2 separate regions of the Homo sapiens genome follow, and region 1 is linked to region 2. The links are contacts of gene promoters, found by promoter capture Hi-C in blood cells and fetal thymus (Javierre and others, 2016). All regions are on one chromosome and are shown on one strand. The core of a region is centred on a gene start or on the middle of the fragment in contact, and the rest is flanking DNA. Distances in the headings are between cores, read along the strand shown. Region 1 holds the start of ANAPC4 (anaphase promoting complex subunit 4). Region 2 holds the start of SLC30A9 (solute carrier family 30 member 9).

Region 1 (4,324 bases), core at 169-2,668, about 17 Mb before region 2:
TTCTCTTAGGGAGGTCATAGCTGTGGGAACTGTCAACAGGTTGACTCATTTAAATGTGTCCTACATAAAGCAACATCAGATGAGTTCTGATTTACAAGTCTGCCAGGCTGGCCTGTGAGCCTCTGGGCAGAGTTCCCGTCCCATGCATTGCTGTAGCCTCAGTTCCTCCACATAGTAAATGCCCAAGTACCTATAGAAGAAATCGTGTGTGAGCCCACACTCTTTTTTTATATTTTAGAGACGGAGTCTGGCTCTGTTGCCCAGGCTGGAGTGCAGTGGCACAATCTCGGCTCACTGCAAGCTCCGCCTCACTGCAAGCCCCGCCTCACTGCAAGCTCCGCCTCACTGCAAGCTCCGCCTCCCGGGTTCACGCCATTCTCCTGCCTCAGCCTCCCCAGTAGATGGGACTACAGGTGCCCGCCACCATGCCTGGCTACTTTTTTGTATTTTTTAGTAGAGACGGGGTTTCACCATGTTAGCCAGGATGGGCTCTATCTCCTGTCCTTGTGATCCGTCCGCCACGGCCTCCCAAAGTGCTGGGATTACAGGCGTGAGCCACCGCGCCCGGCCCTGAGCCCACACTCTTTATTCGTTATGACGGTGCTGCAACTACCAATAAGTTGTGAGGGTTAAATGGGATGAGATGTCACAGTATTATTTGCCTGTTAGGGAGGTTTTAGGGCACGCGCCTCTTCTCTCCAAATTGGAATCACCCAAAGAGTTTTAGTAAATACTGGGCCCATCCAGGGTTAATTTTCTTCTAATTGGTTTGGGGTGCTGCTTGGACAGGGGGACTTTTAAAATTCTATACTGACCCACCAGGACTGACATGAGAACTACTCGCTTAGTAACTGTTAGAGGAGGCGCCAGCTGATCAGGACCTAAAGTTCATATTCTTTTTCATCTCCCCGTTGTCGCTGAAGCCTACCCCATAAACCCCTACCGTCCCTTTGCCCACAGCAGAGAATTTCCGGGAAAACGGGAAAGGTATGCAAGCATGCCCACACACGTGCACACACGGGTTCCCAAAAGACCTGCGTGTGGCCGCAGGGGCCTGCCCCGCCCTTCTCGGGCCCTTTCAGGTCCCGGCGCCCAGCGATCCCACCAGCACCTGGGTCCGGCGCGCGGCTCCCTCCCTCTCCGCGCCCCTCGGGGCTCCCTGCCCCGCCCGCGTGCCCCACCCTTCCTAGCTCTGCCCCATCGCTGCTCCCTGCCCCGCCCACGGGCCCCATCCTACCCCCACCTCGATCCGCCCCTCGCTCCTCCCTGCCCCGCCCACCGCGCCCCGTCCCTGTCCGCCCCTTCTGGCTCTCAGCACCCCCAAGACCGGTGCGCGCCCCGCCCCTCCTCCTCCTCTCGCGAGGCAGTCCCGACGCCGGAAGTGCCTGGAGCGCGCGACAGCGGCGGGGCGGGGCGGCCTGGAGGCTGTGGCGCGCGGCCGGCAGAGGGAGGGGAGAGGCCACTGGGGCCGTGTTAGTCTGCCGGTGGGGACTCTTGCAGGTACAGGCGCGGTCGGGGCTCCTCGTGGAGAGCCGGGGGCTCCTGCCGGCCTCTGACTGGGGTGTCGTTGCAGGGCCGTCCCCATGTTGCGTTTTCCGACCTGTTTCCCATCCTTCCGGGTGGTGGGAGAGAAGCAGCTCCCGCAGGAGATTATTTTCCTGGTCTGGTCGCCCAAGCGGGATCTCATTGCTTTGGCCAACACAGCTGGCGAGGTGAGTGAGCCGGCGGGAGCCCGCCTGTGCTGGGTCTGCTCCCGGGGGGCCCAAGAACACCGAGCCCGAGCCTGTTCATTCGGGCCACAGGCGGCCGGAGCCTCAGTTTCCCCTTCTGCAGACATGGCTGGCCACCTGCTACCCCTTCCCTGCCTCCCAGGACGGCAGTAAACTTTAAGTATATATGCGAAAGGTGATGTCTGTGCTATTTTCGGTACTTTTATGGCTAAAGTAACAGTTTTCACACAGCTTAACACCGTCACGCAATCCTGCTTCCCCAAGTCTTCTTCACTCATTGGTTTATTAGTTAAATGAACTTTTTAAAAAAGCCCACTATGTGCTGCTCATGAGCTAGACATAATGGTAGATGCAGGGACCCTGCCCTAAGTTTGCTTACAGTTTTAATAGCAGTAGGAAGAGTTATTGTCAAACTTCAGCTGCAAATGTGCCTGCATGTAGCTGCCACACAGGATATATTTAAGAACCTGGCTTCTCTTGTCCACGTTTTATAGTACGGGTTGGATAACCACCCTCCACTAAAAATACCTCTAAATTGGACAAGGAAGGCATGCATTGGATTCCAGACAGAACGTGCATGGGTGTTATCAGCATTTCTTGTTCACATAAAACTTCATCGAGTATAAACCAGTTGTACCCAACTTTCTGCTGAGAGTTATTACCTGCCAGCCATTTTGTAAGGAAACCTTCACCTGTGCATCTTTCCGCCTCTGGCTTGAGAGTTATCTGGCCATGTGAGAGTTGTATAGAGCCAAATTTGGAAACTAGGTGATAAGGAAATCTTAGCACCCTGCAGACTGTAGTCTGCACCATGTTATCTACCATGATCCAGTCGCCAGGGTATTGATGTCTAATTTTTCAGGGCCCTCCATGAAATCTAGCTAGTCTCCCTCCGCTGCCGGGATGCTTTGAAACTCTGTTGTGGCTCTAGAGAGCAGCAGGTGGTACCGTCACAGAAGTAGGAGGGAAGGTAGACGGGAGGCACATCCGTGCAATCAGATGGGTAGGCGTGATAGAGGGCACTGTTACATCCATTTTCTCAGTGAAGGAAGAAGCAAGGGCATTGTTTATGGGTGAAGATGGAGAAGAATATATTGGAAGTTTGAGGAGAAAGAAGAGGTATGAAAAAGCTAACAAAGCAGGTGGACTTGGGAAACCTAATAGGATTGCCAGTCAGTGTTAAGACCCACATGAGATCGGTGTTATTATTTGAGAGACACTGGTTGAATAAGGTTGTATGTGTCTCTCTCCGTTCTGTTTGGCTGTGTGGGTGCAGGCATGGTTGGGTTTAACCAGGATTGTCGTTTTGCAAGTATGACAAAGCAAGGCAAAGATGAAAGAGAGTTGAAGTTACGTGCAAGAGGAGTGATTGTGTTTCTGAACTTTGGGTTCTAACCTGATGAAGGAGGGAAGTGAAGGCATGTGTGGGGAGAGGGACAGTGAACAGGTGGTAGAATCAATAGACTGTATCCTGGTGAGGTCAAAGAATTGGAGTTGAGTGTTGTAGAGATGACCTGGAAAGAGGGGTGGTGGATGGAAAGTGGGAAGTTTAAAATGGAGATTTTGGTGGCCCTGCAGTTGTTGGTAATGACCAGGCCGGAGGTGTGACCCTGGGAGTGGCTGAGTGCAGTAGAAGATGTGATCACTGGAGGAGAGGTAATTGAGAGCTGAAAAGCCAGGACATCATAGCTCTTGAAATCACCAAAAATGATGATGAGTGTGTTGTTAGAAGGCATGAGCAAGCCAGGTATCCAGATCTTTAAGGAATGAGGGGAATGGCCTAGGGGTCTGTAGAGGACTGCAATTAAGACGGATAGCGAGTGGTATGGTCTGATTGCATGTGATTCAAAGTTAGGAGATTTACAAGAAGAGAAGAAATGGCATCAAGCATCAAGGAAGACACCTACTTCATCTCCTAGCCCAAAAGCAGCAGTACAGGGGCTGTGGGATACAAAATGGCCACCACCTAGCAAGGCTGCAGGGAAGCATTGTCCTCAGGTGAGAGGCACATTTCAGAGAAAAGTACGAAGATATTAATTTCATGATGACACCTGACCATGAGCTGCAGAAAGCACAGAGGAAGGGTTTCAGAAGTAAGGTATGGCAGGAGTGGTTTCAGAAAAGAGAGGGTCAAATCCAGGGGATGTTGTAACCAGGAGTGAAGGGTGCTGTGAGCTGTGAGATAAGGCAGGGTCATGGTGGCTTAGCTGAGTGTGGAAATGGGGAGGGGTCTTGGAGGAGCATGTGCAGTGGTGAGGCCTTTTCTTCCTTACTGTCAATGGTTGTATAGAAGCTGCAACGGGGCAGTCATAGAGCTCTTGGGCAACATTTTGACCTTCCAAGGTGGGAATTTACTGATGTGGAAATGGAGATTTAGAATGGTTAAGTGATATGTCTAAGATCCATGGCTAGTGAGTGACACAGCTGAAACTAGGTGCCACGTGGACTAATTCCAAGCTTAGTATAATTTGACTGTATTACAGCTAGCTACCTTTTTAGTGGTGTTTGTGTTCTTTTATTTCTTTTTTGGTTGTCACCTTGGACAGCCGCCTTCTTTATAAAAGGTAAGTCTCCCGTTGACATAAAAGATTAGG
Region 2 (4,177 bases), core at 412-2,911:
TAGTAGTGTCTAAGTCAAGTTACACCCCAACTATACCAGGAAAAAGAAGGACAGGAAAGCACACACTGTGAAATTTTACTGTGCACCAACATATTTTACACATCAGGTGGGCTGTTATGGAAATTAAGAACTCTGCACAAAATGTATTTTTTTTAAAAGTTTTATCAAGAAAGGAACATTTTCTTCTAAAAATGATTAGTACAGCTAAACAAAATAAAAATAATAATCCTATCGCACAAATTAAAAATAAAACCTGAGAAGTTTTGATCAGGCTTGCCTAAAACGAGTTGAAACCAAAGCCATTTTAAGAATCCAAAATATGAGATTAGTTTTGTTCAAAAAGAATTATCCATAAAAGTTAATAGATGTTTGCATAGTTACCATAAAATAAGAGGTAAGCCTTTATGTATTTTTACTTCATAAAGTTGAATTTCTATTAAAATCTATTACAAGAAAGGGAAAGTAACTTTCCAGTAATATTCAGATTTTTTAGTAATATTGAGCCTACATTTATGGGACATCATTTTTTAATGTTTGTCCACTGAATATTTTAAGTTATGTTTGTCATAGGAAATTAAATTTGCTTACCATTCTTAACGATAATCTCTTTCCTCATTTGGTTATACTTATCTCAATTAGTATAAGAGACTTGTTGATTTTTTTAAAAATTAAGGACATACTAAATTTCCCCGAGATAGTTATTTTGCAGTAATATAGATAAGCGACTCAGATTAACTTTAAAACAAACCACCATACATTCCATTCAATTTATTTTTGCCAGGCATTGTTTTAGCGGCTTTATACAGCCATGTACAAAATAGACAAGATTCCAGCATCATGATGCTTATTTTCTATTCTAGGACACAAAATAGAAAAAAAAATCTCAAATAGTGATAAGCGTTTTGAAGAAAAGTATATAGGACAGCCGGGTAGAGAATGACCAGGACTACCATAGCTAGGGTGGTCAAGGAAGGCCTCTCTTGAGTTTGAGTTAAGAGCTGAATGAGCATGGCAGAGAGAAACAGTTAACGTGGATACTGTTCAGGTTTCTTTCTCCCTGGGACCAAAATGTTTCGAAGTCTGCATACCTCCGTTTACCCTAACTTGTCATGAACATAAAACCTCTTATATTGCAGGCAAAAATCTGAGGTTCACAGATTAGTAGGGCAAGTAGCTGATTCCGAAGTGTGTACTTGCCTTTATGATACTGGATACACACTGGTGTTAACAAGGAGAACGATGTACGTGGCAGACGTTCGGAGAGTACTGGACATGTTGGTTCTAATTTGGGTTTATCCTGGCAGGCTCTAGGTAGAGAGGCTCAGAAAACCTGCGTCCATCCTTCCCATCTTTCCTCCCATTTCCGAAACCACGGCCCCGGTTTCGAGTCCAGAAAAAAAGGAATAAGTAGAACTCCCAAAGGACAGCTTTCCTGGCTGAACAAGATGTAAACAGTTTACGTGATTTCCAACCAAGCGCAAAAGTACAGGTGCAAAAGAAGACGGCAGACACCAAACTTCCCCTGCAGCCACGCCCTCCCCACTTTGGGAGTCTGGGTCCCCGGGAAGGAAGGCCTCCCTATTGGTGCTCAACGTGTTACGTCACTTCCGCTACCTCCACGGCAGGCGTCGCTAAATGACGTTGCCGTTTCCGGGTCACCCAGGCAGCTTGTGGCGGCGAAGCCATCGGTGTTCGCTGATGTCCAGTCTATGGAGTCAGTTGGTACCGGTGGCGGCGCGGAGGCAGAAGGCGGTGTCCGAGTAGGGGCCTCTGCCCCACCAGGATGTTACCCGGCTTGGCCGCCGCCGCGGCCCACAGATGTAGCTGGTCCTCCCTGTGCCGGCTCCGTCTGCGATGCAGGGCGGCGGCCTGTAATCCCAGCGACCGCCAGGGTGAGTGTCCCGCGCTGGCCGCTGGCTCCGTAGAAGCCGAACTGGAGGGCCAGGCTGGGCTCGGCGCCTCGCCTGGGGCAATTCGCCCACTTGCCTTTCGCCAACCTCAGAACCTTCCTTTCTGGCCTCCGCCTTTCCAGTTCAGCCTGCGCAGCCCGCGGGGGTCCTGACAGGTCTCTGACTCTGATGCCTTCTGCAGCCCTAGCATGGCCCCCGCGGGAACTTGTGGGCACCTCGCGGGCCGGATTGCACCTCTGAAGCCTACCGCTTTGTACCAAACAAAATGTTACGTGCGCATCGCGGTGTCCCGCGGTTACTCACCTCCGCGGTTGGAAATTGCGGACTCCGCAAAGTTCCAGGGTCTTTGGAGCTTTCCAGCGCACCTTCATTTAGCACTTGGTTGAGATTTTCTTGGCCTTCTTTTTCTTACTCTCCCAACTTATTTTCTTAAATTTTCTAAAAGGAAGGAGGGGTGCTACTCACTACGGATCTTTTGGAAGAAGTACGAAAGTATCCGACAATCATTGAATGAACCCAGTTTGGGTCCGAAAAACAAAGAAACTCTTCAGTTCGGCTGAGCAGTCTTTTTGGTGAAAAGGTGGCAGTTGTAGTGGTAACCCAGAAAAAAAGGTGGTTGAAGAGAATTTTCGTCTCTCTCAACATTCTTTTCTGACTCAAATTTAAATGGTTTGAGAGTTTCCAAAATAACATTGAACTAATCAGGCTTACCTTCGTTTTTGCCGTAGCTTGACACACATTGCTTGACACTGAGAACTGATAGGATCTCTGAGGGAGAAGACAGAACTAAGTCCACCCTTAACCTAATCCCTCCATTCTTGGGATGCAGAGAGTATTTACCGAAACATTCATGTTCGAAGCCAGGTGTGGTGGTGCGCTCCTGTAGTCCAGCTACTCGGGAGACTGAGGCAGGCAGATCTTTTGAGCCCAATAGTTCTAGGCTAGCCTTGGCAACATAGTGAGCTGTCTGTAAAAACATAGGTTTGAAAAAACCTGTAACATGTTCGTGACCTCCTGAAAGAAGTCGGAAGTTGCAGTCATTCGAGATTTTATGTAATATAAGCTATAGTAACTATGCTGTGGATATAAATTAGAATATATTCGTATCTTTTATTTGCAATAAATGTAAAGCTGAATCTTAGAATTTCAAACGGATAAATTTTAACAGCACTATTCCCAGGGCTTTTTTGGTAGTGATAGAAAAGTGTAACTGTTGAGTTTTTCCATATTGGCAATATACTGCCAGGTTCCCTTATGGACAGAATGAATCATCGGCTGGGTGCAGTGGCTCATGCTGCTAATCCTCAGGAAGATTGTAAACCTTAGGACGCTGAGGTGGGTGGATCGCTTCAGCCCAGGAGTTCCAAGACCAGCCCGGGCAACATGGCAAAACTGCCTCTCTACAAAAAATTAGCCTGGTTTGGTGACGCGCGCCTGTAATCCTAGCCTGTACTCAGGAGGCTGAGGTGGGAGGATCGCTTGAGCCCAGGAAATTGAGGCTGCAGTGAGCCTTGAGCATGCCAGTGCACTCCAGCCTGGGTGACAGAGTGAGACCTGTCTCAAAAAAAAAAAAAGAAAAGAAAAAGAAAAATGAATCATACGTTTATACTGTACTCCAGAATCCCCAAGTAAGTTTCTAACACAATTGTTTCTATTGACCAAGCAATTTTGGCATTTTACACTGAAATTACAGTGGCTGTTAAATTTAGTCTAAACTGCCCTTTAAGTGTTGGCAAAAAGGAGAAGAAACAGTGTAATTTGTAATCCCTCTTCTGTGTAGCTGTCATTATGTTGAAAATTATGTATTCTTTGTCTCATCTGTCTGTGAAACACAGATAATTATTACCTACCTTAGTGGTCAAAATGACTTTGCAAAGTTGTTTGGAATGTTTATTACTACAAAAAATTAAAATTTTTTTTACACTTAAAAATGCTTAGTAGGTTTTTAAAAATAACTTTGTGAAAATTTAGTTTCAGTAATGAAGCATTTCTTAAAAGGGCAACCATTATTATGGCAAAATTTAAAAATCATTTAGAAAAAGAGTACTATTTAAATTGGATGCATGTGAGAAGACTATTTGAAGAACTTTTGGAGAAAGAAAATCTAAAAACAGTTGTTTTTATTTGTCTAGAAGTAAGGTTTAGTTTATGCTTCTAAAATGCCTGTGGCTGGGAAAAGCTTATAAAGCATAAGGAGAGGAGGAAACCTTGAGGGATTGCTTGAATACTTAAAAATGAGGAATGCCTTTAAAGGCAAAATAGAAACT

What was found. The method cuts DNA at HindIII sites, captures the fragments that hold promoters and counts their contacts. A CHiCAGO score of 5 or more calls a contact.
Region 1: the fragment with the promoter of ANAPC4 here is called in contact with the fragment with the promoter of SLC30A9 in region 2 in 1 of 17 cell types (total CD8 T cells); the score reaches 5.2 in total CD8 T cells.

The regions. Positions count from the first base shown.
Region 1 is chr4:25,375,845-25,380,168 of GRCh38, forward strand. ANAPC4 (anaphase promoting complex subunit 4) reads left to right here and starts at 1,419. Exons shown (of 29, transcript NM_013367.3): 1 at 1,419-1,500; 2 at 1,574-1,712. The coding sequence starts at 1,584. RefSeq lists a silencer at 1,122-1,541 and enhancers at 1,662-1,721, 1,752-1,821. The HindIII fragment of the contact is 5,076 bases long and covers 1-4,185 here.
Region 2 is chr4:41,988,869-41,993,045 of GRCh38, forward strand. SLC30A9 (solute carrier family 30 member 9) reads left to right here and starts at 1,662. Exons shown (of 18, transcript NM_006345.4): 1 at 1,662-1,892. The coding sequence starts at 1,784. RefSeq lists enhancers at 1,334-1,413, 1,694-1,833 and a silencer at 1,543-1,762. The HindIII fragment of the contact is 8,038 bases long and covers 1-4,087 here.